Regions from separate parts of the Homo sapiens genome. Here regions 1, 2, 4, 5, 6 and 7 are each linked to region 3. The links are contacts of gene promoters, found by promoter capture Hi-C in blood cells and fetal thymus (Javierre and others, 2016). All regions are on one chromosome and are shown on one strand. Each heading gives the region's core, a stretch centred on a gene start or on the middle of the fragment in contact. The rest is flanking DNA. Distances are from core to core; before and after follow the strand shown. Region 1 overlaps LOC105369466 (a long non-coding RNA gene). Region 2 holds the start of ELMOD1 (ELMO domain containing 1). Region 3 holds the start of KBTBD3 (kelch repeat and BTB domain containing 3). Region 4 holds the start of LOC124902813 (a long non-coding RNA gene). Region 5 holds the start of CASP5 (caspase 5). Region 6 overlaps CWF19L2 (CWF19 like cell cycle control factor 2). Region 7 holds the start of ALKBH8 (alkB homolog 8, tRNA methyltransferase).

The links. The method cuts DNA at HindIII sites, captures the fragments that hold promoters and counts their contacts. A CHiCAGO score of 5 or more calls a contact.
Region 1: a contact is called between a fragment that was not itself captured here and the fragment with the promoter of KBTBD3 in region 3, in 1 of 17 cell types (M0 macrophages). The highest score is 5.2, in M0 macrophages.
Region 2: a contact is called between the fragment with the promoter of ELMOD1 here and the fragment with the promoter of KBTBD3 in region 3, in 1 of 17 cell types (naive CD8 T cells). The highest score is 5.4, in naive CD8 T cells.
Region 4: a fragment that was not itself captured here is called in contact with the fragment with the promoter of KBTBD3 in region 3 in 1 of 17 cell types (neutrophils); the score reaches 8.6 in neutrophils.
Region 5: the fragment with the promoter of CASP5 here is called in contact with the fragment with the promoter of KBTBD3 in region 3 in 1 of 17 cell types (neutrophils); the score reaches 5.7 in neutrophils.
Region 6: a contact is called between a fragment that was not itself captured here and the fragment with the promoter of KBTBD3 in region 3, in 1 of 17 cell types (non-activated CD4 T cells). The highest score is 5.9, in non-activated CD4 T cells.
Region 7: the fragment with the promoter of ALKBH8 here is called in contact with the fragment with the promoter of KBTBD3 in region 3 in 1 of 17 cell types (total CD4 T cells); the score reaches 6.4 in total CD4 T cells.

What each region holds. Positions count from the first base shown.
Region 1 is chr11:104,690,148-104,693,766 of GRCh38, reverse strand. All of the region lies in intron 1 of LOC105369466 (a long non-coding RNA gene), which reads right to left. Among named protein-coding and RNA genes, the nearest start is that of LINC02552, 83 kb to the right of the region's middle. The HindIII fragment of the contact is 6,917 bases long and covers 1-3,619 here.
Region 2 is chr11:107,588,490-107,592,492 of GRCh38, reverse strand. ELMOD1 (ELMO domain containing 1) reads right to left here and starts at 1,346. Exons shown (of 12, transcript NM_018712.4): 1 at 1,084-1,346. RefSeq lists an enhancer at 844-903 and silencers at 1,154-1,293, 1,354-1,463. The HindIII fragment of the contact is 4,180 bases long and covers 1-2,733 here.
Region 3 is chr11:106,074,834-106,078,641 of GRCh38, reverse strand. KBTBD3 (kelch repeat and BTB domain containing 3) reads left to right here and starts at 1,295. Exons shown (of 4, transcript NM_198439.3): 1 at 1,295-1,330; 2 at 1,935-2,135. It overlaps AASDHPPT (aminoadipate-semialdehyde dehydrogenase-phosphopantetheinyl transferase), which reads right to left and starts at 980. Exons shown (of 6, transcript NM_015423.3): 1 at 749-980. The coding sequence starts at 931. RefSeq lists enhancers at 713-952, 1,263-1,372, 1,383-1,502. The HindIII fragment of the contact is 8,387 bases long and covers 1-3,808 here.
Region 4 is chr11:104,960,026-104,963,893 of GRCh38, reverse strand. All of the region lies in intron 1 of CASP4 (caspase 4), which reads left to right. LOC124902813 (a long non-coding RNA gene) reads right to left here and starts at 3,451. Exons shown (of 2, transcript XR_007062986.1): 1 at 1-3,451. The HindIII fragment of the contact is 6,671 bases long and covers 1-3,868 here.
Region 5 is chr11:105,020,735-105,024,537 of GRCh38, reverse strand. CASP5 (caspase 5) reads left to right here and starts at 1,370. Exons shown (of 10, transcript NM_004347.5): 1 at 1,370-1,408. The coding sequence starts at 1,402. All of the region lies in intron 1 of LOC124902742 (a long non-coding RNA gene), which reads right to left. The HindIII fragment of the contact is 8,276 bases long and covers 1-3,803 here.
Region 6 is chr11:107,446,469-107,450,329 of GRCh38, reverse strand. The region is part of intron 3 of CWF19L2 (CWF19 like cell cycle control factor 2); the gene reads left to right. Among named protein-coding and RNA genes, the nearest start is that of CWF19L2, 9.4 kb to the left of the region's middle. The HindIII fragment of the contact is 3,918 bases long and covers 1-3,411 here.
Region 7 is chr11:107,563,406-107,567,306 of GRCh38, reverse strand. ALKBH8 (alkB homolog 8, tRNA methyltransferase) reads left to right here and starts at 1,572. Exons shown (of 12, transcript NM_138775.3): 1 at 1,572-1,706. RefSeq lists enhancers at 1,280-1,339, 1,186-1,702, 1,410-1,899, 1,703-2,221. The HindIII fragment of the contact is 7,705 bases long and covers 1-3,901 here.

The DNA of each region.
Region 1 (3,619 bases), core at 828-3,327, 1.4 Mb after region 3:
GGCTTTTTCATTTGGAAACTCATATTCTGGAAAATTTTCCTCAGTCTTTAAAATTTTATTTTCCTCTCCAATTCACCCTTTCTTTCTCTTTCTGGATGTGCTCTTGGACAGGTATAAAATCCCCAAAATTTATACCTTATTTTCTTATTTTCTCTCTTATTTGTTATCTATTTTGTTTACTTGATACTCTATCGAGCCTTTCTTCTCAGAGTGCCTGAGACTGGCAACATTAGCATCATCTGCAAACTTGTTGGCAATGTACAGTTTCAGGTCCCACTCCAGAAATGTGCCTTTAATCAAATTCTCCAAGTGATTCTATGCACAATGCAATTTGAGAAGCATATCTCTAGAATTACTGTGCACTTGTGCTTCAGTCATTATGTTGAATTTTTAAATTTCTACTGTCATATTTTTAATGTCCCTATGATCCTTTTTTGGTCTCTGAATATTACTTTTTATAATAGCATTCTCTCCTTGTTTTATGAATAAAATATTTTCTCTCTCTGATGATATAATTACACCTTTTGCAGTTTTTTTCCCTACACATGTGTGTGATCTCTATTTCTCTAAATCGTTTCAGTCTTTTTATTTGTTTTGGTCTTAGTCATTCATGTTAGAGTTGTTTTTTTAATACCTGATCATTTTGACTGCTCATTTTAAAAGTGAGACACTAGAAAGATGTGTTTGTTGAACTGGAGATAAGGTAAGTACATGACCTTGTCTTATCTATCAATATAGAAAGGTTTATTTCTTTTAGATGAATCACTTTTTACAAAACTTATAAGCCTGACTATTATCAGCATCTTGATGAATTAGGGGAAGCAGCTGAGAGGTGATAACCATTCAGAATTCGAAATTTACTTAAGCCTGTTTGTATTCAGTAAATCTAAATACCCATATTGTCTGACTAGTATCCTTAAGCTCAATGACTATTGCATCAACACATATAAAGATTACCTATCACATTGGATTGCATACAGAAAATGTGGTACATATTCAACATGGAATACTACACAGCCATAAAAAGGACAAACTCATGTCCTTTGCAGCAACAAGGATGCAGCTGGAGGCCATGATTCTAAGTGAATTAATGTGGGAACAGAAAACCAAGTATCACATGTTCTCACTCGTAAGTGGAAGCTAAACATTGACTACATATGACCATTAAAAATGGCAGCAACGGACACTGGGGACAGGAAGAAAGAAGCGGGGCATGGGCTGAGAAACAACTTATTAGATACTATGCTCACTACCTGGGCGATGGGACCATCTTTATCCCAAACCTCAGTAGCATACAACATACACGTATAACAAACCTGCACATGTACCCTTTGAATCTAAAATAAAAGTTGAAATTATTATTTTATTTTCATTTTGATTATTATTATTATTTTTTGAGATGGAATTTCGCTCTTGTTGCCTAGGTTGGGGTGCAATGGCATGATCTCAACTCACTGCAAATTCCATCTCCCAGGATCAAGCAATTCTTCCTCAGCCTCCCAAGTGGCTGAGATTACTGGTGCCCAACACCATGCCTGTTTTTTTTTGTTTTTTTTTTTAATATATTTTTATCAGAGACAGGGTTTGACCATGTTACCCTGGCTGGTCTCGAACTCCTGACCTCAGGTGATCCGCCAACCTAGGCCTCCCAAAGGGCTGGGATTACAGGCGTGAGCCACCGCACCAAGTCAAAATTTTTTTTTGAAAAACTGACTCTCCCATCTGTTGGCATAGAGAAACAATAGAAAATGGTGGCTCTCCTGGCTGGTATGTGGGATCTGGCAGTTTAAATGCCTCATGTACAAATTTTTCTGGGTTTAGCATCATCTAATATCCTCACCTTGAAATGTATTATCTGCCATCAATTCTAAAATCTTTCTGAAGTTTTGGGAGGACAACTCAGCTTGCTTCTTATTAGTTTTGCTTCTGAGATACTTAATGTTCAGCTTTCTTAAATCTAATAAAGCAGTTTCTACCCATATCTCAGCTTTCCAAATTCAAAACTTTTGTTGATGAGTCTTGTATCTGGTATCTTCTCTCTATTCTCTCTTCCCATTTTTGACCTTGGGAATTTATATTTTCCTTTCCATCTACTGTCATTTTAGTGGAGTGTGTAATGAAATAAAATTTTTAAAATTGTGTGTTCTTTTTTACCAGGATGTCTATGTTATCTCACTTTATCTGTACAGCAATCCTGTCCTCCAGTGACTATATTGCAATGAGTTAAGAAGAGAGTTTCAGAAAGATAACATGCCTGGCCAAGGTATTAACAAGAAATAAAAGTAAAAATAAAAAACCTACTAAAGAGTATGTACTTGTAACAATATTTTCTGACATTGAGTTCCCTGGTATTTCTACTATATTATGTATTGCAGGGCTGAGTCACCAAACTACAGCCTACATTCCAAAAACGTCACACTGAGTGTTTTTGTCAATAAAGTTTTATTGAAACACAGTCATGCTTATTTGTGTATTAGTGGCTGTTTCCACACCATGATGGCAAGAGTTGGTAATTTTTTTTTTTTTTTTAACAGAGTCTTGCTCTGTCACCCAGGCTAGAGTGCAGTGTGATCTCGGCTCACTGCAGCCTTCACCTCTCAGGCTCATGTGATTCTCCTGCCTCAGCCTCATGAGTAGCCAGGATTGCAGGTGTGTGCCACCACCTCAACTAATTTTTGTATTTTTAGTAGAGATGAGGTTTCATCATGTTGGCCAGGCTCGTCTCGAACTCCTGGCCTCAAGTGACCCTCCCACCTTGTCCTCCCAAAGTGCTGGGATTATAGGCATGAGCCACCGTGCCCAGCCAGATGACCATTTTTCAAAGAGACTGCAATGCCTAAAGTATTTTCTCACCTATTCAGAAAAAGTTTGCCAGTCTCTACTTTAAATACTTTTATGGTGGCTACCTCGAATCACCCAATTCTACTAACCCTGTCCTCATCTTTGCACATAGTTCCACCTCTGGAAAATGTAAATCTCTTTATCTTACTGTACTGTAACTTTGTTTATGGAGAGCGTGTATGATTTAACCAGGTTTTAAAATAATCGTATAAGTCATATCATCTCTGACTTTTTATATCCCCCAACTTAGAGGCAATTTTTTTCACTTTGTAATTCATTTTGGTTCATAAAAATATTTATAACTATCTAGGCACCTGGTAGATTTTGGGGAAAGAATATTAGGACACTGTCTTTATTTACTTACTCTAAAATTGTAAGTACAATTGGTGACTTTATAATTTCACTACAAGCTCTATGAACACATCTGGATTTGGTCAGAGAGCACCACATGTCTTTGTTAAATAGAAGCATCTGCTATGTCTTTGTATCTTATTAAATCCTAATATTAGTAACACTGATCTGGTTAAACACGGAAATTTCAACATATTCTTAGGCTCTATCTCATTCATCTGATAACCCGTGTATGTGGATGTTTTCCTATTTCTGTACCCAAAAAACAAGTAAATCTGGAAGAGTAATCTGTTGGCACAAATAGGCAATTCTGCAGCATGAATATAGCCACTTTAATATTTTTATTATGTTTTAAATTCACGTCTCCATAAGTACAATTTTTTAATTTAAGACATGGATATAAGGGATTTTTATGTGTGTAGTGCAA
Region 2 (4,003 bases), core at 97-2,596, 1.5 Mb before region 3:
ACCATATTGGCAGCACCAGTTAAGGACGGTTGTCAAGCCACCGGCACAAAACGTATACATTGCAGAGATGCAGAACAATGCCTGGATGCCTGCCCAAAATTGGTCTCTCCAAATGACAGACTCAATTGATAGTACCAATCTACGGCCCACTGGGGGTTAGCAGCGTATTTTCCTAGGTGGTGGGGGAAAGGGATGAAATGTGGAAAGCTCAGGGCACTGTGCAGAGCAGAAAGGCTGACAACATATTCATTAAACTTGATCTGAAGCAAGTGAGCCCGTGAGGTCGTTCCTGAAATATTCATAAGATGTGTTACCGAACTCGCCGCTTAGAGGTTGAGCATAAACACTGAGTCAGAACAGCCCGTACCCACACTTGGAAAACAAAAAAAAGCACCCACAACAGCTCACCCCACCACCACACTCCACTGCTCTGCTTTTAACAGCCCCGTCAGCTGTCAGCTGTCACTCCCCACTCGGCTGTCCAATTCTACCTGCCCGGGAAAGAGATGCTCCAATATTGAAGTGCGGAGTTTCCCAGCAGTTGGAGGAGGCGCAGCTCAACAGCCCAGCCGACCGCTCCTCCCAGCTCGCTGCGCGGAGGACCCCACAGTCCGGCGGCCCCGCAGCCCGGCTGCCTAGCTCCTCCCTGGAGACCGAAGCCCACAAGGCAAGGGGTTCCCAGGGACCCAGACCAGCCCCTCGCCCCAGCCAGGCCGCCCTTGTCCCGCCTTCCATTTTGGCTCTGTCTGGGATCCCTTCCCCGAGCCCTCGGCGTTAGGTCGCTAGGCGACCTACGCCCGGGCCGAGATGCAAACAGCCTCTCGCGCCGACCTGCAGCCTCTCGGGTGTTAATTGGGAGGACAGGATAGAAGGGGAAATCACTGTCCTGGGTGACCCCGGAGCCCCTGCACCAAGGCAGAGTGCACTTTCATTCCCGTTCCCTCTCTGCCCCCGATGCTTAGCATTTCTGCTGCCTCCCAGGCACAGCGCAGCTTGCGTGATGCCTCGCGTCCTCGCCGCACCTCTCTCCTCCCCAAGGGCATTCGCCCCTACTCCCTAGGCTCCTCTGGGGTCGCCAATCACCTGGACTCTGGCGGCGGTAGGCTCAGCAGCTCCCGGCGCGCGGCGGCGTGGTCTTCATCTCCGCCTTCCCCAGGCGCTCCGGCTACGCGCTCCGCGGCGGCGAGCGACGCGCTCGGTCCCGGGCGCCGAGGCTGGACAGGGGCGGCCGCGGCTGCCGCACTGGCTGCGGGCGCGGAAGGGGCGGGGGCGGGGCAGGAATCTGGGTCGCGTGGAGCGGAGCAAGCCGGGATGCACCCGGGGCGGCTGGCGGCGAGGAGGCGACCGAGAGCAGCGGGGGAGGGCGTGCAGAGGCTTCCCTGGGAGCACGAAGCGGGCGGCTACTGAGCATGCCCAGTCCGGGAGCCGGGGGCGCGGGCGCGGTGCTGGGGGAGAGAGCGCGGCACCCAGTGCCGGAATCTGGGGGGAAAGGGTTAAATCTGCGGACCCCGCTGCTGTGGGAGGTGGCTGGTGTGGCCCAGTTTAATTGCTCCCGGGTGGCCTCCCTGGAGGAGCCCACGACAGGAAGATGGTGAACCTGAGATGACCTGTCAATGGGATTCCCAGACAGTCCGGGCAAGGTGTGTTCCCCGCCCTCTCCCTGGATAATTGTCCAGAAGTCAAACTTTGTTTTAGTTCAGCTCCAACCTCCCTCGTCTCACCGAGCACCCAGTGACTCTTCCAATCCTGATCCCCACCCTTCACCTGCCTTCCCGGGACTGCAGAACCCTATCCCTCACCCCAACCGGCAGCCCCCGCCTTTCCCACTCCTGGCCCAGTCGGGTCAGATTCTCAAAGAGCCAGCTCTTTAATTAGGTGTAATTGAGAGATCGTGTCAATCCTGCGAGGTCCATATCTGCATTTCAACAAGGGCTTTAGAAGCAATACCGTAACCCCGGGGTTAATTATAACAGGATGAATTATAGACACCCTCGTCCGGGGCTGTTTGGGGGAACATTGCTTCGTGGGGCCCCAGAAGCCACTTCATACAGACAGAGAGAGAGAGAGAGAGAGAGAGAGAGAGAGAGAGAGAGAGAGAGAGAGAGAGAGAGAGAGAGAGAGAGAGAGAGAGAGAGAGAGAGAGAGAGAGAGAGAGAGAGAAACCTGTGCCTTCCGGATTGCATTTCATGTTTGATGAAGAACGTTTTCTCCATAGCTAATCAAAAAAGTCTCTTTAATGAGGCCGCATGGGGTTGGGGAAAGACCAAATGAGCTTCGAGGTCGGCGCTTATTTTAGTTTCATTCATCACTCCAAGCCGGTTACCTGACCGTCTTGTGCCTCTGTTTCCTCACCTGTAAAACAAAGGGTGGTTAATACCTACCTCTGCGGGCTGTTGTGAGGATTACTTGGGCAGCTGGCGGCGCGGAGCAGCCTGGATACCAAAGCATCTGCCTGTCCCGCAGTGGATGTTCCCTGAATAAAAGTCTCTGCAGGTTCCACCTCCACTATTCTGTGTTTATGAAAAGTTGGGTTAGTGATAATCCTTAAATGCTGAACATTTATCTTATTTCCTCTTCACATTAAATGACCTTAAAGCCTTGACCTTTCTGATTTTTTTAATCATTGTTAAAAGCATTAGCCACTATTTACTTTTCTTTCTTTTCAGGGAGATATGAAGGATACCTCCCTGAATAAACGTCTTGGAAAAAGATAGACCTTTGGAGGGAAAAGCTTCTCGGGAGAGATTCATTAGGGATAGATTAATCCACCTGACAAAAGAATTTTACTCCATAGTCTTTTAAACGTAATTTGCTTGCATCTCCCTGTGGTCCTTGTTTCACAACTATTGCATGAAGTAATGTATGCCTGTATGGAAGGAAATTTACTTCCCATGCATACTGTTGACTATTTAAGTATCAGAATTCAAAAGATAAACTTTTTATTATCCCCCAAACATACTATTTTTTTAATAACACATTGCTTTATTCATGGTGTTCCACCCTTTCTGAAATACCATTCTCAAAAAAAAAAAAAAAAAAAAAGAAATACCATTCTCTCTCATTCTATTTCATGAAGTGCTACTCACTCTTCAAGCTCAAATGTCACCTTCTCTCTGAAGCCTACCCTGAACCTCAAGACAGAGTGAATGCTGTGCTCTCATAGCACCAGTGCATACTGCTATCACAGTACTCATCACAGCCTATCACTGTGGTTCAAGCAATGTAAAACTACTTACTGAGCAACTGTTATTTGCAGGCGCCATTCTACATGTTAGGAAAATAAGAACAAACAAGACAAAGTTCCTGCCCTCATGGAACTTACAGTCTAGTTGAAAAAGACAGAAAATAAACACCTAAACTGTAAATAATCACTAAGGACAGAAGTCTAGTAATTCTGTTAATTTTTGTCTTTGTGTTATCCATCAAATTACGCTATAGAGTCTTGACTCATCCTTCCAAAAAACATCAATAAAAATATTAATATTGGCTCTAGGCCAAACAAATGACATGGACATGGATCTCTGCCAGTTTGTTGCTGAACCAGTGACTTTTACTCCTTTCAGTTGATTCCCTCAGCTAAAACTTTCCTAAACTCAAACCACTCAAGGTAGGTAGCTGCAATCCCATGTGATGAATGGAAAATGGTAGGGGAGGGCTAGAGAGTTTAATCTCCACAACAAATTATATCCTTTATCTAACCTTTAGGAATGGCATTTCTAAAATGTCCAGAATCAACCTGGATCCCCAGATCTCCTGCATCCCAAAAGTCTCTTCCAGGGTCTTGCACACCACTCCCACCCTCTCACCTTTTCACCATCTTTGGCCTCTATTTATGTCAATAGTTATTCTCTGTCATACATCTTCTGTTTGAATCTACCTACTGTCTGAATGACAAGCTTTTCTCTCTGATTCTCTTATTGTCTAAGTGTGAGGCAGCCTTGGTATCACTTAGAACTGACTTCTTCAAAGCATATTTGTACACATGTATGCCATAGCAATTAGA
Region 3 (3,808 bases), core at 46-2,545:
ATTATCAACTAGTCTACATTTCAAACAGAAAGTGTTTCAATATGGGACATTTTTAAGAAAGGACTGTCTTTTAAATGATGGTAATTCACGGTTGTTTCAAATTGCACCATATTGTACAGATTACTTGTTTTGAAATCCAGTTTTCCATTTGTTGCTTCAAAATACATAGCTAAAATAAATAAATCTACGTAAAATACTGTTTCCCATGGCATCTAGTGAGGAAGGTATCCTCTCTGGCTTCAATTTCATTGGCTTCAATCCCGGGGAGCGCAGGGCTACAAACTAAATCATACTGTCAATAATTTCTAGGGCCTACCACGTGCAGGGAGTCCTTGGAGAATGATGGGATATTTAACAGGCAGAATAAGCATAGGCTATGAACGCACACAAACAAAAAAAAATAACATTTAAAGATAAAGACATAAAAACATTCATTACAGAAAAACCCAATTTTGTCGGCCTTCCCTACACTTATTTCATGGTTTAGGAGGGTCTCCATTTGAAATAACAAGGGGAAAGAGATAATGTTTACAGCCATCGCGGCCTCCAAGGCGGTTACAAAGGCCGTGGAAACCAGGCCGTGCGTCGCCCACAACTCCGCAGCGCCGGCTGCTGTCGCCCGGGCCGGCCACAGGCTCCACAGCGAGAGGGTCGCGGCCAGCGCGGGAGTGTCGGGTCTCCACAGCCCGGCCCGCCTCCCCCAAGATCTGCTTCCTAGGCTCTAAATACCAAAAAAGACCTGTAGTACCATGGCTGCCTTAGCGTCCCGGGCAAAGACGAACTGGCCAATGCGCTCCTTCTCCTCGGGCTGAATCGATCGCACTGCCAGCAGCCATTCGGCTCGGCTCGGCAGCCAAGTGCCGCAGGAAAAGGCCCAGCGCACGCCCTCCATGGATGGCACCAAGCAGAACCGTTTGGCAGGGAAAACCATACACTGAAAGCGGACCTCGCCGCTATCTCGGGCCTGATGGCGCGGACGCAAACGTGGCCCCACCCCCTTCTTCCCGGCGTCCGTGCGCAGGGGACGGGCCGTCGCTACGCAGACTGGCCCACCGACAGCCCTCCCAGCCCGCCCCCGACTCAGCCACCTCCTCTCGGAGAAAGCAGCTGGGGGCGGAGACGGAGATCAGCCCTGCGCTTTGCGGCATTGTATGACGTCAAGTAGGCGAGGCTTCGGAGGCGAGCGAAGGGCGGGACCAAGGCCAAGAGCCCGACAGTTACGCCACTCACACTTGCGGAAGAGTTAACGGGACAGCGGTGCAGGCCAATCGCAACCAGTCCTCTGGAGGCAGGGAGACTGGGGTGGAGACTTCGGAGACTGCAGTTGCAGGTGGGTGAGCTCCGGGGTCTGAGGGAGGAGTGGGATGGTAGCCCTTATTCTCAGGGTCTGAGTTGGCCCCTGTGACCCACAGAGAAGAGAATGTCCTTGGCTTCAGCTGCTTCGTGTACGGGGCACGAGAGGTTTCCATCTCTAGGAGGGGGTCTGCAGTGGTGCCCCCTGCAGTTGTGCAACGCATCAGCCCTGAGTTCCTTCTTTCCCTGCCCCCATCCGCATCAGCCTAAGACCCACCCTCACACAGTACGCTCCCGACCCTTAGCAGCAGCCTACCTGAAACCCTCCCTCCGAAGGCCGAGCAGAGGCACTATCCCCAGTGCGCAACACTGACCCCGCCTGGATCCGAGGCTGCCAGCGAGCAGCTGAGCTAATGCTGGCTGTTTATTTGGGGCGATGAAGCGACCCAGGTGCTGTTTTGCTATTGCCAAGCCTGGGCTAGAGCACTAGCGAGAAAACAGGATTCCATTGTTGAGGTATCAGTGTTTCCATCATGACAGAGGTCCTTGCTCTAACAGCAACAGAAACAAGTAAATAACTTTGCTCAGTTATTTTCTCAGACTTTGCGAAGGGTCATATTGATGTATGTCTGTTTCCTTAGTTGTTCCGTGTAGGCTGTTGTTGACTCTCGTATGAAAGCCCACGCGATCCAAGTGCCCTGCAGGTTTTGGTCCAGGGAAAAGTTGGTCTCTGCAGATGACTGTAAATGACTACCTGGAGGTCGATTAAAGTGCGGTACTGCGGGATTCAGCCGATTTCCTTCTTCCTCTGACTGCCCGGAAATATCAGCCAAAGGCCAGCGGTAGTAATTAACACAATTACCTGCCTATGATTTCTGTCCTATTTAAGATGGGTTCTATTATGTTTTTATCTATACTTGTCTTCATTAACTTTTCGTGATATCATAAGCCCCCCGAATCCCTCGAAAGTAGATGGGATTCTGAGCACACACACACACAAATTCAGATCCCCAAAGGACAGTAAAACGAATTATTGGCTTAATATATCATCTTAGCTAACCAAAAGCCTGTGTCAGCTGCCATGTTGAAAATCTGCTTACCAGCTGCAGGGAGCTTACAATCTGGTAAGGCAAATAAATCATACGCATAAAAAGTACAATAAGAGACAGTGTAAAGATACGTAAGTGATACTAATACCCATATCAGCAATGATCATAACTCACTTCTCCATTTTTAACTAAGAATCATATAACCTTTCCTTCTTGTCGTTTTAAACTGATTTTTATAACTTTGATACATTACGTTTCTGTTTCCAAAACACTTCTGTGTACGTTATTGCACATGTTCTGTGCACTAGTTATTACTGATGGAGACAATGAGCTCAGAAAGAGAATTTGTTTAAATTCAGGAATTCATATCCCATTATTTTACCATCGAGCAAGATCTCTGTGTATTAGATCTATGGAGCCTAATACACAGACAGTAACGTAGGGATTATTTGTACTTGGTCTAGAATCTAGAATATTCTCCCCTTCTCCCATTATCACATTCCTTGTTTCCTCTGTATCATTCAGGCCCAAATCTCATACCAAACAGAATGTCTCTGTTCACCTAGTCTAAAATAGCTTACTCTCTCCACTTCCAAACCTCAGCCCCAAACCTATCACCCTGTGAACATATTTTATAGGTTTGTTTAATCCCCTTCCCTGTGTGGTTTTACAAATTCTCCAGAGCTTAGCTTAAACCTTCTCTTAGGGCCTACTTCAGAGTACCTTTTTCCAAAACAGTATTGTTTATGTAATTCATTTGGCAGTTATTCTAGTATTGCCTTATGACGTCTCTCCTATTGTCCTGAATTATTTTCATGTGTGTTATCTTGCAAAATAGAATGTACAGTACTTGAGAGGGAATGTCATGTATACCTTTTACAAATAGTATACATGAGTAAATGTTATTAATGACTCCACAATAGATTTATTACTGTCAAGGGTAACACTGCTTTTTATATTCTATCTGCCTTTACTTCCCTCACTTTTATTAAGGAAATATAAATATGCAGTTCATAACTTGCTTAACTATATTAAATGAACCCAACAATTTTATTAAAATATTTTTTACTGCATTGGTCAGGGGAAGAAGAGGACTAAAGTAATAGGGGCTCACTCAGTCTGTAATGATCATCTTGCTTGGTGCTGATCTGTGGCTTCTTAGCAGGATTCTGAGGGACTCGTATTCTATTTCCAGCTCTACCACCAATTGTCTGTGTGACATTGGTCACACAGGATCCTATGTGTGACATAACCTCTTCCATGTATTAATTTCAATGGAAAGGCATCGGATGAGATCATCTCTAAGTCTAGGTGTTTTTTAGATATACTCACTAACTTTTTATTGGGTCACAAACTTTATTCTACCTCAAACCCTTCTTTTTTCCCCCAAGACTTATTTGAATAGCTCCATAATTCTACCAGTTTCTCAAGGAAGAAACCATGATGCTGCTCTTCTTTGACTCCCT
Region 4 (3,868 bases), core at 1,009-3,508, 1.1 Mb after region 3:
AAGCTAAATAAGCAGGCACAGCTGAAGGCAAAGACAGATCTCCAAAATGAAGGATGCCATTTTATACTGGATCCCAGATCCCCAAAAGGAAGGAAATACTACTGGAGAAGAGAGTGCAGTGCTTCTAACCTGCATTTTATTGCAAGGCAACCTAAAGCCAATCAACCCATTTTGAAATCAGCCCATCCCCCATGGAAGTCTCATCTCTCAGTCAGGCATGGGGATGTTTCCGTATCTTCCAGGTGGCCCAGAGCATGCTTCTCTGACCCAAGTGTGCGAAGAGCCAAGTTTCCCTCTGAAAATACTATTAGCCATCCCTTAAAGTATATTTCCTACCTAGTTATTACATACCAAAGCTATCTCATAATGCAAAGTAATTTCTGATATCCCCAAAATTCAAACTGTCAGATAACACAATGCAAAACAGAACAGAGCCTTTGATTTTGAGAGTGATCCATCTACTTTTAATTCCTTGGTTGTCATGAAGAAAACAGAGGGTTTTTTGTTTGTTTCTTGTTGTTTGTTTTTCCCAAAATGGGGTCTGTGGTGCTTCCTCTGTTTTTCTCAAGGAGTCTCAGGCTACCAAAAGTTATCTTAGTGCCTCTTATGTGTGCATTAAGAGTGGCAAGACAAAAAATGGAGAAAAATAATTCAGTTTACTAAGAAGAAAAAACCCTCTTTTACAGAAAAACGAGATCCAAGAAGAGAAAAACATAAAGGTCTTTTAAATGTATCCATAACTTGTTTATTCACTTTTAATTAAGCTGACTTTTAACCTTAGTGCTCTTAACAAAATCCTTTTAAATTTCGTATTACCCAACTTTAGCCATGCGGCCAACATTTCTGGCTTTTGAACTTTATCAAAAGTAACTTCCCAGGTGCTTCAAAGGTGTGGTAAGCAGTTTCTTTTTACAAGATTTAGAATTTCCCCAAGGTAGTCCAGAGAAAGGAAAATTCAAGAGAGGAAATCAGAAGCTATCCATGGGGTTGTGGGGGAACCTCATTAAATGGCAAAGTTATGCAAATAGCAAACCAGAAGGAAATTGTTCCAGAAGCCAAGAATAGAGCCTGAGCCTCTATGTCAAAAGGCAAAGTCTTAGCTACTGAATTACAGCATTGAGCAGTTTCTATTGCTATTCCAAGAAGGAGACTAGAGAAGCCACTTTTAACCTTGCCAAGGCTTTTAACTGCTCAAGAAAAATTTTTAGGGCTGGATGGTATAAACCAAAAGGAAGTATCCACATATGGTCACAAGATTAAGCTCTTAAGGAGGCCAAACAAGACAGAGAAATTTCATACAGTATTGGTTTCAGGGACCCATTATAATTGGCCAGCCTGCTGAGCTGGCTTGAAAAGCAGGCTTATAGGGGTCCTAAACCCATGTTCTATCTTGTGATACCCCTCTTTCCATTACAGAACACTGAAAGACAAATTCTTAGCAAAAATACACCAGATTTGCTATAGGCTAAGACTAGTCTTGTAAATTCTTTTTTCTATTAATCAAAACTTTACAGAGAAACATATAGTGATGTTTACTGTTTACACAGATGGAGAAAGAGAGAGAGACCAGAAACCTAGCTGGTAAGAATTTCTTACACTTTTTGCTGGCATACCAGATTTCTGGGTGCCTTTTCTCTGTAACTTCCAGAAGAACGGAACGGCTTCTGATCAGCCTGCTCACCTCACCATAGTTGTGGGGTTCAAGCCACTTTACAAGAAAAAAGTCACCATTTTCTGTTTTATGGAAACATAGGCAAGATTCTTAAAATGCAAGATGCTGCCCAACCAGCTGCATGGGGAACCATTTAACATTTTCTATCCCAGCAGAATTCACATAACAAAACAGACACTAGTCACCTCGTTCAGCACCCAATATCAACCTGGCAAAGCTCAGACTTTTTTCTGTTCGTCCCTGTTGTCTTTGATCCACTCCAGGTGGGGAGGGACGACCTCAGAACAGTAATTCACAATGGGGTCTCTGGGTAAGGCAAAGAGCAGATAGTCACCATGAGACAGGCCTATTGAACTTTCTCCAGGGCTCATCGAATGTAACCAAATAAGAAGAGTCCTCTGAGTTAGGCCTGCTGGACTTCCTTCAGCAATTCCTTCTGAGATTCCCTCCACATATACAAACACACACGAAGATGAGACAGACAGAAGGCCTTCCAAATCAGATGATCCCTAAACAGGAACTCCAAGAGTATCCCTTCCAAACTATCCTCCTATTCTCTGTCTGAGAAATCTCAAAATTGTCCTGATTGAGGACAAGTCTCGTGAACCAAGACTCTTCCTACTAGTTAGAGCCAACCAAGACCCCAGTGGAGCCGAACAGATACCCCGTGGTGGAGCTACAAACAGACACCCTGCAATGGGGCTACAGACACCCTGCAATGGGGCTACAGACACCCCATCATAGAGCTACAGACAAGTCGAGAGAAGGAAGGAGGCATTAGCAGTGCCTAGTAGATTCACCAATCCTAACACCCTGCAATGGGGCTACAGACAGACACCCCACTATGGGGCCACAGAACCAGTCAGGAGAAGGAAGGAGGCATTGGCAGCACCTAGGATACTCACCAATCCAGACACCCTTCAATGCAGCTACAGACGGAAACCCTGTGATAGGGCCACAGTTAGAGGACATCTCTCCAGGATTATTTCTCCGTTGCAATTAAATGCATGCACATTGGGTTGGCAGTGCCTGCCAGTGGAGAGAGTACCAGAGCCAGCCCCCAGTCCAAGAGAACTAGGCGGCTACTTGGGCTACCTTCTGGATCCATCGCTGGAGCGGGGGCACCAAACCACAAGCAGGTAGCCACAAAGGCTTTCCCAGTCTGATTTCGTTCATTGTTGTAATTTCCTCAGTTATAATTTTGCAAAGGTGGTTTCATATTCCTTAAGAGTTGAGCCACACATAAGTTTTATTCATTTGTTCCTACATGGACTTGACTACTGATTCAGTAAATAATTAGTAAATATTCAGTAAATAACTAGTAAAAAGAATGCCAAAAATAGTGCAGATGTAGTTCATGGCCCCTGTCCTCACAGAGCATAAATTCTAACAGTGGATAGAGATAAGTAGGCTGGGAATCACAATTAAATGGAAAAATAAAAAAAAAGGCTGGATGTGGTGGCTCAGGCCTGTAATCCAATAGCAGCAATTTGGGAGACCAAGATGGGTGGATCACCTGAGGTCAGGAGTTCGAGATCAGCCTGGCCAACATGGTGAATCCCCATCTCTACTAAAAATACAAAAATTAGCCAGGCGTGGTTGTGTGCACCTGTAGTCCTAGCTACTCAGAAGGCTGAGGCAGGAGAATCGCTTGAATCCGGGAGGCAGAGATTGCAGTGAGCCAAGATAGCACCACTGCACTTCAGCCTGGGTGACAGAGTGAGACTCTGTCTCACAAAAATATATAAATACATAAATAAATAAATGGAAAAAAAATGCTACTCTAAGGAGATACAAGGTGCCCTAGGAGCATATATCTCTGATGCTGTCTCCTCTGGAAGAATCAGAGAGGATTCCCTTAAGAAAATACCATCTAATCTGATACTTGAAGGATAGACAGATAGACAGATAGACAGAGAACAGTTCAAAAACCAGAAGAAATTAGAAGCGGGGGTGCTGAAACTATACAGATCCCTAAGTAGAGACTTGATTCCCTGAGAAAGGTGCCATCTAATCTGAGACTTGAAGGTTAGACAGACAGCAGTAGGAAAACAAGAATGAATGAGAAGGTAGGGGCTGGAAATACAGAGACCCCTAAATAGAATCTTTCCAGAAATTAAATGAAGGCAGAACGTTTTGAATGTAATGAGCAAGGTGGGAACAGTATCAGAAAATGAGTGAATGAGAAGGCCTAGA
Region 5 (3,803 bases), core at 121-2,620, 1.1 Mb after region 3:
GTCAGTTGAAGAACAGCATTCCAGGAAGTAGATAAGAGGATTCCTTCAGAACTGTCTCCAATCAAAGCGTAAGATGACAGGGAGATGGGGAGGAGAAGACTCCATCATGATTCCTCAGCACAGTTTAAACAAGAAATACATTTATTGAATAAACAATCCTTTCCTTGTTTCTTTTTGCTGTTGTTGTTGACTTTGTTGAGTATCAGTTGGTTATAGGTGTGTGGCTTTATTTTGGGGTTCTCTATTCTGTTCCATTGGGCTTTGTGTCTGTTTTTTTTGTACGAATACCTTGCTGTTGTGGTTACTGTAGACTTCTAGCATAGCTTGAAGTCCAGTAATGTGATGCATCCATCTTTTTGAAAAGCAGTTTGGAGATTTACCAAATAACTAAAAAAAGAACTATCATTTGTCCAAGCATCCCATTACTGACTGAATCCTCAAAGGAAAATGTACTGTTCTATCAAAAAGACATGTGCTTTCAAATGTTTGTCGCAGCACTATTCACTGTAGCCAAAATAATAGAATCAACCCAGGTGTCCATCAATGGTGGATTGGATTTAAAAAAATGTGGTACACTGCTACTATGGAATGTTACACAGCCATAAAAATGAAACCCTGCCCTTTGCAGCAACATGGATGCAACTGGAGGCCATTATTCTAAGCAAATTAATGCAGAAACAGAAAACCAAATATCACATAATCTCACTTGTAAGTTCTAGCTAAATATTGTGTACACATGGACATAAAGACGGGAATAACAGACACAGGGAAATACCAGAGGGAGGAATGAAGGAAGAAGGCAAGAGCCGAAAAACTATGTACTGGGTGCTATTCTCACTACCTAGGTAATAGGTTAAATTGTACTACAAACCTCTGCATCACCTAATATACTCTTGTAACAAACCTGCATATGTACCCCTGAAACTCAAATAAAAATTGAAATGAAAAATAAAGAAACCCAAGATATACAAAATATTTGGTTAATTCTTATGGGAAGATGCAAGGAAACTAGTTAGATTTTACTCATTCAGGACATGTGTTTTTAGACGAGCAGAGGTAGAAAAACTGACAGATCAGAAGAGAGGGATGAATAAAAGAAGATGTGGGGCTATGGAGAGAGAAAAGGAAAAAGAAAACCAGGCTGAGGTTTCAACCCACAAAACAATGTTTTGTCATTTGCATTTTTTTTCCCCAGGGAAGAATCTAGAGTTCAAGAATAGAAAGCCAATTTGCTTACTACAGGGCACTTCCCAATGATGAAACTATAGGTTCCCAGAAGCAACTTCCCATAATCTGTAATCACTTGTCCCCACTCCCTGCAATAAGGAAGTACCTAGTGTATTTTATCTCTGAGTCTGAGGCACTTTCCAGTGCTGTACAAAGAGACAGAGGCTGTTAGCTATGGCTGGTGAGTCTGGGCCCTTTTCTGACTAGCAGCTGGGTACTCAGGTCTTAGAAAAATCTTGATTTATTGCTATGTGACAGGCAGAAATACCAAAAGGGAAATCAACCAATAGTGTGCATGCTGAATCTTTCTCTTATTGGTGGTATGTAGTTTGAATCCTGAGACTGTGTAGAGACACTGAAGGAGAGTATGTTCTCTAGATGTTTTCAAGCCAGAAAAAGGTTAATTCCTTTCTTTCAGCTTCTGGTAATCAAAGAGAGAGTAAGGAAAGACAGAGTAAGTTATTTGTGTGAGAAAACTCCGGAAATTTCTAAATGCACTCTGAAATCTTCTCTGCTTCCTCTTGATTCCAAATTAATCCTCCAGACTATGAACCTTCTCCCCACAATCAGATCTGAGAGCCTCTGTGTTCTCAACGTGTTGTCATCTCTTATCTTGAATTATCTTATTGGTCTGTTTAAAGTGATTGCATTTTTCCACCTTTCTATGTAGTCCTGGTACTAACTCTTATAATGTAATATATCTTAGGTTGCTATCATAGACTTTTAACTGTCTTCCCACTCCCAAAAACTTAACCCTTCAGTCCATACTGCACACTACTTTCAGGCCAACTGTCTTATACACAGAAGCTAAAAAAGCCTATGAGTTGGAGTCCTGGGCTACTTAAGCAGCTCGTATTCCAGCAGGTCATATTGCGTCTTTGGTTTCATTCTCCTCACTGGAAAAAGGAAGAAACTGGAATAGATCAGTGCTTTCTAAACCTTATAACATATATGAATAATCTGCAGTCTTTTTTTTTCTTTAATTTATTTATTTATTATTATTATACTTTAAGTTTTAGGGTACATGTGCACAATGTGCAGGTTAGTTACATATGTATACATGTGACATGCTGGTGGGCTGCACCCACTAACTCGTCATCTAGCATTAGGTATACCTCCCAATGCTATCCCTCCCCCCTCCCCCCACCCCACAACAGGCTCCAGAGTGTGATGTTCCCCTTCCTGTGTCCATGTGTTCTCATTGTTCAGTTCCCACCTATGAGTGAGAATATGCGGTGTTTGGTTTTTTGTTCTTGTGATAGTTTACTGAGAATGATGATTTCCAATTTCATCCATGTCCCTACAAAGGACATGAACTCATCATTTTTTATGGCTGCATAATATTCCATGGTGTATATGTGCCACATTTTCTTAATCCAGTCTATCATTGTTGGACATTTGGGTTGGTTCCAAGTCTTTGCTATTGTGAATAATGCCACAATAAACATACGTGTGCATGTGTCTTTATAGCAGCATGATTTATAGTCCTTTGGGTATATACCCAGTAAAGGGATGGCTGGGTCAAATGGTATTTCTAGTTCTAGATCCCTGTGGAATCGCCACACTGACTTCCACAATGGTTGAACTAGTTTACAGTCCCACCAACAGTGTAAAAGTGTTCCTATTTTTCCACATCCTCTCCAGCACCTGTTGTTTCCTGACTTTTTAATGATTGCCATTCTAACTCGTGTGAGATGGTATCTCATTGTGGTTTTGATTTGCATTTCTCTGATGGCCAGTGATGGTGAGCACTTTTTCATGTGTTTTTTGGCTGCATAAATGTCTTCTTTTGAGAAGTGTCTGTTCATGTCCTTCGCCCACTTTTTGATGGGGTTGTTTGTTTTTTTCTTGTAAATTTGTTTGAGTTCATTGTAGATTCTGGATATTAGCCCTTTGTCAGACGAGTAGGTTGCGAAAATTTTCTCCCATTTTGTAGGTTGCCTGTTCACTCTGACGGTAGTTTCTTTTGCTGTGTAGAAGCTCTTTAGTTTAATTAGATCCCATTTGTCAATTTTGGCTTCTGTTGCCATTGCTTTTGGTGTTTTAGACATGAAGTCCTTGCCCATGCCTATGTCCTGAATGGTAATGTCTAGGTTTTCTTCTAGGGTTTTTATGGTTTTAGGTCTAACTTTTAAGTCTTTAATCCATCTTGAATTAATTTTTGTATAAGGTGTAAGGAAGGGATCCAGTTTCAGCTTTCTACATATGGCTAGCCAGTTTTCCCAGCACCATTTATTAAATAGGGAATCCTTTCCGCATTGCTTGTTTGTCTCAGGTTTGTCAAAGATCAGATAGTTGTAGATATGCGGCATTATTTCTGAGGGCTCTGTTCTGTTCCATTGATCTATATCTCTGTGTTGGTACCAGTACCATGCTGTTTTGGTTACTGTAGCTTTGTAGTATAGTTTGAAGTCAGGTAGTGTGATGCCTCCAGCTTTGTTCTTTTGGCTCAGGATTGACGTGGCAATGCGGGCTCTTTTTTGGTTCCATATGAACTGTAAAGTAGTTTTTTCCAATTCTGTGAAGAAAGTCATTGGTAGCTTGATGGCGATGGCATTGAATCTGTAAATTATCTT
Region 6 (3,861 bases), core at 203-2,702, 1.4 Mb before region 3:
ATTATTATTTTATTGTACTCTGTATAATTTCAGTTGTTAAAAAGTTTTTGAGACATTTTATATTCTAGCCTATGATCTATATATATTTTGTAGAGATGTGGTTTTGCCATGTTGCCCAGCCTGGTCTCAAAGTCTTGACCTTAAGCAATCCTCCCACCTGGGACTCCCAAAGTGCTGGAATTACAAATGTGAGCCACTGCATCTGGCCTCTTCCTTTTTTTTTTTTTTCTTGAGATGGAGTCTCACACTGTCACCCAGGCTGGAGTGCAGTGCCGCAATCTTGGCTCACGTCTCTTACTTTTCAATTAGATGTTTTTTGTGCTCTCTAATCTGTTAGCTGTTTATGGCTTTTAAATTTTTTGTTAAAATTCATTAAAATTATATCAGCCAAATTTATGTGGCTACTATATTCGACAGTATATAGAAAAATTCTTTGAATAGTACTGGTTTGGATTATTTATGTTTAATGTAATAATTGATATGGATGAGTTTAAGTCTACCATGTTGTTATTCCTTTTCTATTTTTTCTTTGTTCTTTTTTCCTTTGTTCCTTCCTTTTCCTGTCTTTTGGATCGAGTGTTTTTTAGCATCCCATTTCATCTGCTGTAGGCTTATTAGGTATACCTTATTTATTTTTAATGACTGCTTTAAGTCTTATGCATATTTTAACTTACCATACTCTCAAATAATATATAATTTTACTTTTATAATTAGACTTTCACCAAAATATACTTCCATTTTCTCCTACCATATTTTTTGCTATTGTTGTCATATATTTTACTTCTACATATGTTATAAACCCACATTGTTTATAATTTTTAATGTCATACATTCTTTTTATTTATACTTTAGTCAGTTATCTTTTAAATAAGTTACACATATGAAGAAAGTCTTTTATATTTACCCACAGATTTATCATCTCTGATATTCTTTATTATTTTATGTAGGTCTGAATTTCTGTCTAATACCATTTTCCTTTTGTCTGTAGAACTTTCATTAACATGTATTATAATATGGATTTGCAGACATTGTATTCTCTCAGCTTTTGTTTGAAAATTTCTTTTATTTCATCTTCATTCTTTTTTTCTTTTACCACAAACTCAGAAGTTCCTACTAGCAATCTTCATTTTTCAGATACTTGGCTAGATAAAGAATTTTAAGTTTATAGTGTTTTCTTTTTTTTTTTTTTTTTGCACTGTAAAATGTCATCCCATTGTCTTCTGGTTTGCATTGTACATATTGAGAACTCTGTAGTCATTGTAATATTTTTTCTCTGTATGTAGTGTGCCTTTTTATTCTGGATGCTTTTAGGGCTTTTTTTTTCATCATTATTTTTCAGTGAATCAATTGTGATATGTCTTGGTATTGATTTCTTTGTGTTTATTCTACTGTCTTAGTTCATTTGGGCTGCTATACCAAAACTAACTGGGTGGATTATAAATGACAGAAACTTATTTCTCACAGTTTGGGAGGCTAGAAAGTCTAAGATCGAGGCGCTGGTAGACTTTGTGTCTGATGAGGGTTCAGTTCCTCAGAGATGGCTGTCTTCTCACTCTAACCTCATATGGCAGAAGGGAGTGCTCTTGGGCTATGTTTTATAAGGGCACTAATCCCATTCCCAGTCATCTCCCAAAGGCCTCAGCCCCTATTATCATTGTCTTGGGAGTCAGGATCTCAACATAAGAATTTGGTGGGGGACACAAACATTCAGAGTGTAGCATCTGCCTTAGGTTCATTGTGCTGCTTTGATTTGTGAGTTTACAGTTTCCATCAAATATGAAACTTTCAGGCTTTTTTCGAAGTATTTTTTTTTTCTGTTCCCTCTCATTTTGGTAGTCTCCTTAAAATAATGTCTCACAGGTTGATGAGCCTGTGTTCACTTACTTTCTAGCCTTTTTCCTTTCTATGCCTTGGGTTGGGTATATTTTATTGCTATGTCGTGAGCTTCAGGTTTACTGGCCTTTTTTTTTTTTTTTTTTTTTTTTTGTGACGGAGTCTCGCTCTGTTGCCAGGCGGGAGTGCAGTGGCGTGATCTCAGCTCACTGCAACCTCCGCCTCCTGGGTTGAAGTGATTCTCGTCCCTCAGCCTCCTGAGTAGTTGGGATTACAGGTGCTCATCACCACGTCCAGCTAATTGTTTGTATTTTTAGTGGAGATGGGGTTTCACCATGTTGGCCAGGATGGTCTGGATCTCCTGACCTCGTGATCTGCCTGCCTCAGCCTCCCAAAGTGCTGGGATTACAGGTGTGAGCCACTGCGCCTGGCCGACTGGCCTTTTCTTTTGCTGTGTCTAGCTTACTGTTATCCCTATCCAGTGACATTTTCATTTCAGGTACTGTATTTTTTTTTTATCATTAGATGTTTCGTTTGGATCTTTCTAATGTTTTTCAGTTTATCTCCTCATTATCTTTACATTTTCCCTTCCTTGAACATATTTATGATAGCTGTGTTAAAGTCTTGGTTTGCTGTTTCATTTTCTCTTGTTTTTTCCTGTTCTGTTTCAATTAAATGATTTTTCTCTTGAATATGGGTCACATTTGCTTGCTTCTTTGAATGTCTAGTAACTTTTAATTGGATGCTGAACCCTATGAAACTTATATTGTGACTGCTGGATTTTGTTGACTTCTTCAGAGAGTATTGAGTTTCCTTTTGGCATACAGTTAATTACTTGTGAATTAGCTTAATCCTTTTCAAGGATTGTTTTTAAGTTTTGTTCGTATGCACCTAGAATAGCTTTACTCTAGGACTGGTTTAGCCTTTCTACTAAGGCATGACCTTTGTGGGTTCTCTGCTGATTGTCATGGATGTTCAGCGAGGTTTCTTTATTCTGGTTGGGAGGAACTAGAATGTCTTCCAGCCCTTTGTGAGCTCTGGGGATTGTTCTGCTTACAGCTCTTTGGTAATTGTTTTCTCCATGGTAATTTTTCTTTGCCTGACCTTGTGGACTCTCATCCTCAGCATGTTCAGCTTGGTCTTTCTTTAAAGACTCCAGGGGTCCTTTAAGTAGATTTCTGGCACCCTTTCTCTGTGTAACTTCCCATCTGTACTTTTGTTTCAGCCTTCACAAAGTTCAAATTCCGTTTCCTTTGCTCAGTGAGATTTTCATGTTCTGCTTGGGTTACCCCTCTATGCCACAGTCTAGAAAGTGCCTTTAGATAAAAAGCTGTAGAGATTGTAGTTTCATTTTTATTCCAATTTGTATGTATTTCTAGTTTGATGCCATTTATTTTGTCAAGGACAGAAGCAGAAGTCCTCAAGATCCCTTGAGTTTTGCTGGTAGCACTTTTCTGTCTTAGTTCCACCTTCTAGGTTTTGACCACTAGATAGAATTAGAGGTGTGGTTAATTCTGCAGGCTGCACAAGAGAAGGAGAGCCCTGAAGGCTGTGTTAGGTCAGGAGGCGTATTAAGCTTGATAGTTAATGAGTTCAAGGTAAAATGGAGATTGAAACTAAAATTAGCAAGAGAACTGAAGTCGTAGCATGGGGAGCATCAATTTTGCTGAAGTGGTAAGGTGAGTGAGTGCATAATTGTGAAAATGAGTATAGGTTGCTGCTTAAAAGTTTCTGACTAGTGCTATTGAAAGAGTAGAAAAAGACATTTCATTTAATTTCAGCTTGCATTTATCAAATGCTTATTCTTTGCCAGACACTGTTCTAGACATGGGGAATATAAAAATATATTTTTAAACCTTTGGGGAACTCATTTCCTAATTGGATAAATAGATACATAATATTAATAATATGATTTTGTAGTAGATTTTGTAGAAGAAGATGTTGGCTTTATTTTCTGTTGTTACTGAGTTTAGCATACCATCCAACATGATGCCATGGTAGTACAGGGTATTAAGAGGGATTTCATTT
Region 7 (3,901 bases), core at 323-2,822, 1.5 Mb before region 3:
TGTGTCCTCTTATACTCATGTAGCTTGCAATGTCTGGTGGATTTGACCTCTCCAGCTTGCACTTGCCTCCTCATTTTTACTATTAAGTTTTGGTCTCACCCTTTCTTTCCTAGACTATTGCAATGCTTGCCTATCTGCCTCTTCTGTTCTTTCATGTTTGTAACCTATTCTCCACACAAATCATTCCGCCACTCAACAGCACTCTTTTTTCACTGCCACTTTTCCTGGTCAGCCAGCTATTTTATTGTTAGTCCACTGTGGTGCACTGCAGATAGGGGCCATTGTATCAACAACATGGGAAGGTGATTCCTCTTCCCCTACACCTTTCCCTCCCTGCACTCACATAGCTCATAAACCAATGCAGGTAGAAGGATTATGGTACATTTATATAACAAATAACAGAGCAGGAACAACTGCTAATCATCACCCTCTCCTTTGTCTTTTACTTATGATCTGTTACCAGCTCTTTTTTCTTTCCCTCTGCCACTACTGGGCTTGTTAATATTTCGTTACTTTTCACTTCATCAGTCATCTTCTAGTCTCTCCTCCCACTTGCCACAAGAAGCTCTGGTCATATCATTTCATTTCTCTAACCTTCCTCCCTGCAACTCCCACTCTGCAGGCCTACAGAATTCTGTCTTGCTTCCTTCACCATTCTTCCACACATCTTTCTATTACTCTGTGGTACTCACCATTCCCCTGGCACATTCATGCATATTCACTTCCTTCCCTCCCGCCCATGCAATGCCATCTTTCAGACCCCAGGATCCTCTCCCATATCTCTGTGAACCCTGAATATCTGAGACAGGTCTCAGACAATTTAGGAAATTTATTTTGCCAAAGTTAAGGACGCCCGCCCGTGACACAGCCTCAGGAGGTCCTGATGATATGTGTCCAGGGTGGTCGGGGCACAGCTTGGTTTTATACATTTTAGGGAGACATGAGGCATCAATCAATATATGTAAGATGAACATTGGTTCCGTCCAGAAAGGAGGGACAAATTGAAGCAGAGGCGGGCCAACTCAAAGTGAGGAGGGGGCTTCCAGGTCGCACGTATTACAGCTGAGAGACAAATGGTTGCATTCTTTTGAGTTTCTGATGAGCCTTTCCAAAGGAGGCAATCAGATATGCATTTATCTCAGTGAGCAGAGGGATGACTCAGAGGGATGACTTTGAATAGAATGGGAGGCAGGTTTGCCCAAGCAGTTCCTAGCTTGACTTTTCCCTTTAGCTTAGTGATTTTGTGGCACCAAGATTTATTTTCCTTTCTCACCTCTAATAAGATTCAGGAGGAAATATGCACGAAGAATAGAAGGTGCCAGGGGACATTGCTGAAAGACCAAAGGGCCCAAACCTGTTTGACCTTGTCCATTTGGAGAGCAACAGATAAAAATATAGCTGCACTACCAATTATTACTACTCCCCCCAAAAAGACAACTGAATTTTCAGTGTAACAGACAGCACTTTACAAAGACACTTGGTCGAAAAAGGGTCACTCCCGGGCTCTGGGAGGCGAAGAGGACTGTGGGAGCGCTGTTCGTTGTCCCGCGGGCTCATGGGAAATGTAGTGCAGTTTTCTCCAACATGGCCGCGCCCAGGGGAGATGGCGTGCAAGTATCCGCTGCGGTGTTCTGGTGCTAGAGTGGAGAGGCTGGCAAAGAAGAAGGCACACGCATGGTGAGAATCCGGCCTGAGCCGAAGCGGAGGTGTGTGGCACTTCTTACTGGCGGGCATACGGGCAGCAAATCACCGCTTCCTCTTTTCAGCCTCTTCCGGTCTTCTCTATCCGCCTTGCCAGCTAGGGCTGAGAACCTAGGGAAAGGGGATGGATCCCAGAGGCGCCCTTGGTGCAGTGTGGGCAGTAGGGTGTCTGCGTTGGGTGGTTCTCTCAGTGTTTAGGGTGCATGTGTTTGTGTTTGGTTCGGGCGCTCACGTGGTGCCTGTGTCAATCTTCTGTTTTCTTTGGGGTTGGAGAGGACGGTTGCAACATGGGGCGTGTTAGTGTGGCGCTTCTGGGGCTTTTCTGACCGGTGACAATCGGTCTGATTGCATCGATGCAAAGGCAGTGCTGATGATCTGATCCCTTGCGCAGCTGAGTCTTCCTGTGCTCTTATTTGAGCAATCCCTGCGACTCCTGGACCTCTGGTAGCGTCAGCCTGTTATTTTGATAGATTTCATTGAATATTTATTGTCAGTTGTATGTCAGGCACCAAGTCTGTGCCCTTAAATAGATGACAGTTTTCTGGCCGAAGCCCAACACAAACAGGCAATTATAATACCATGTGAGAACTCTAGAGATAGAGGTCCATGCTAGGTGTTAATGAAAACGTTGAAGAAGGCCACCAAACTCAGAATTCTGGAGGAGGGGAGGTTTAGGAGGTAAGACAGCAAAGTCGATTTAGGTTTATTCGACAAATGGTTATTGAGTGGCTGCTAGGTGCTAAATCCTGTTTAAGTGCTGGGTGCTACAGGGTGAACAATAGAGACAAAATCTCTACTTCATGGAGTGAGTGTTCTTTATTCAGTTATGGGGAAAGACAGAATAAACAAATTAATGAGAGTGTAAGAAAATATGTAGTAAGTGTTATTCAAAGAGTTAAAACGGGGTGCCGTGACAAGTGATGGGGTGAATTTTTTTCTAAAAATTTTAAATCTTTATTTTCTTTTTAAATAGATGATGCAGTTTAAATAGCTACTAACTTCAAAAGTCATGAAAGAAGAAAGCTCCCTTTCATTCCTTTACTCATCGATCCATTTTCCTTCCCTGGAGGCAACCCATATCACCAATTTCTTGTGTGTCCTAAAGATTTATATGTAAACTCTGTATACCAGTGCCGTACGTTAAAATTGGGCCTCGTTTGATAGGAAGTTAGATTCTTTCTAATCTTTGCTATTAATTATTAGGTTGTGCAAAAGTAATCATGGTTTTTGCATTTTTTTAAACATATAAGTATAGGAACATTTGTCTATACTGCTTGTTTCATAATAGGCTCTCTATTATTCAAGGAGGGCATGATGTACATACTACTATTACCACGTAGGGCAATATCTAGTAGGATATATTGGCTTTAAACTCACTAACAAGCAAGTAGCAGAGCATGCATAATCTCCAAACTTTCATTATCCCACAGAGAGTACGCTTAGGCTGGAGCTGGCTGAACCGGACTCAGCATGGCTAGTATCATAGTTAATAGTGACTTCACTCCAGTAATGTCACAGGGAGCATCCAAGTATCTGTGCATTAGTGGAAACTCTGGCCAGGGAAGTGGCTTTGTCAGAAGGGGGCACCTCCAGACCTCAGCAGCTGGTATCAGCCTATCCTTGTTGAGATGACTCAGATATGTTGGGCCAGCACATTGCCTAGCCACTGGAATGGTGGAAAACTGAGCCTCAAAGGCCATTTAGTGTCTTTCTTCACGTGCAATAATATTGCATGACTGAGGGAGAGAAAAAGGAAAGGGATGACAAAAATGTGGTTATGAGGCTCCACCTGCTGGTGCTGGACTCTTAGTGGCAGACATTTTAAAAAGATATATTTAGCATCGTTTCTTTCTCATTCCTTCTTTGCAGTGTTTGCTCATGTGAAATATTAAAAATTCTGTAGTGCAGTCATCCCTTGTTCTCCATGACATACTGCAAAGTTGCTGTTCCACAGATGAAGATCTTGAAATGGAATGGCTCTAAAATAGCTCCTTTGAAGGGCCTCAGATATTCTTTGTTTTGTTAAGCCATTTTGATCTGCTGCTTCTGAAAATCAACAGTAATAAATAAATAATAATAAATAAATTTAATTCTAAGAAAGCTATGGGATAGGCACTATTATTTTTATCCCTATTCCTAGATAAAGAAACTGGAACACAGAGCTATATAACCAACTCATCTAGGATTATACAGCTAATAA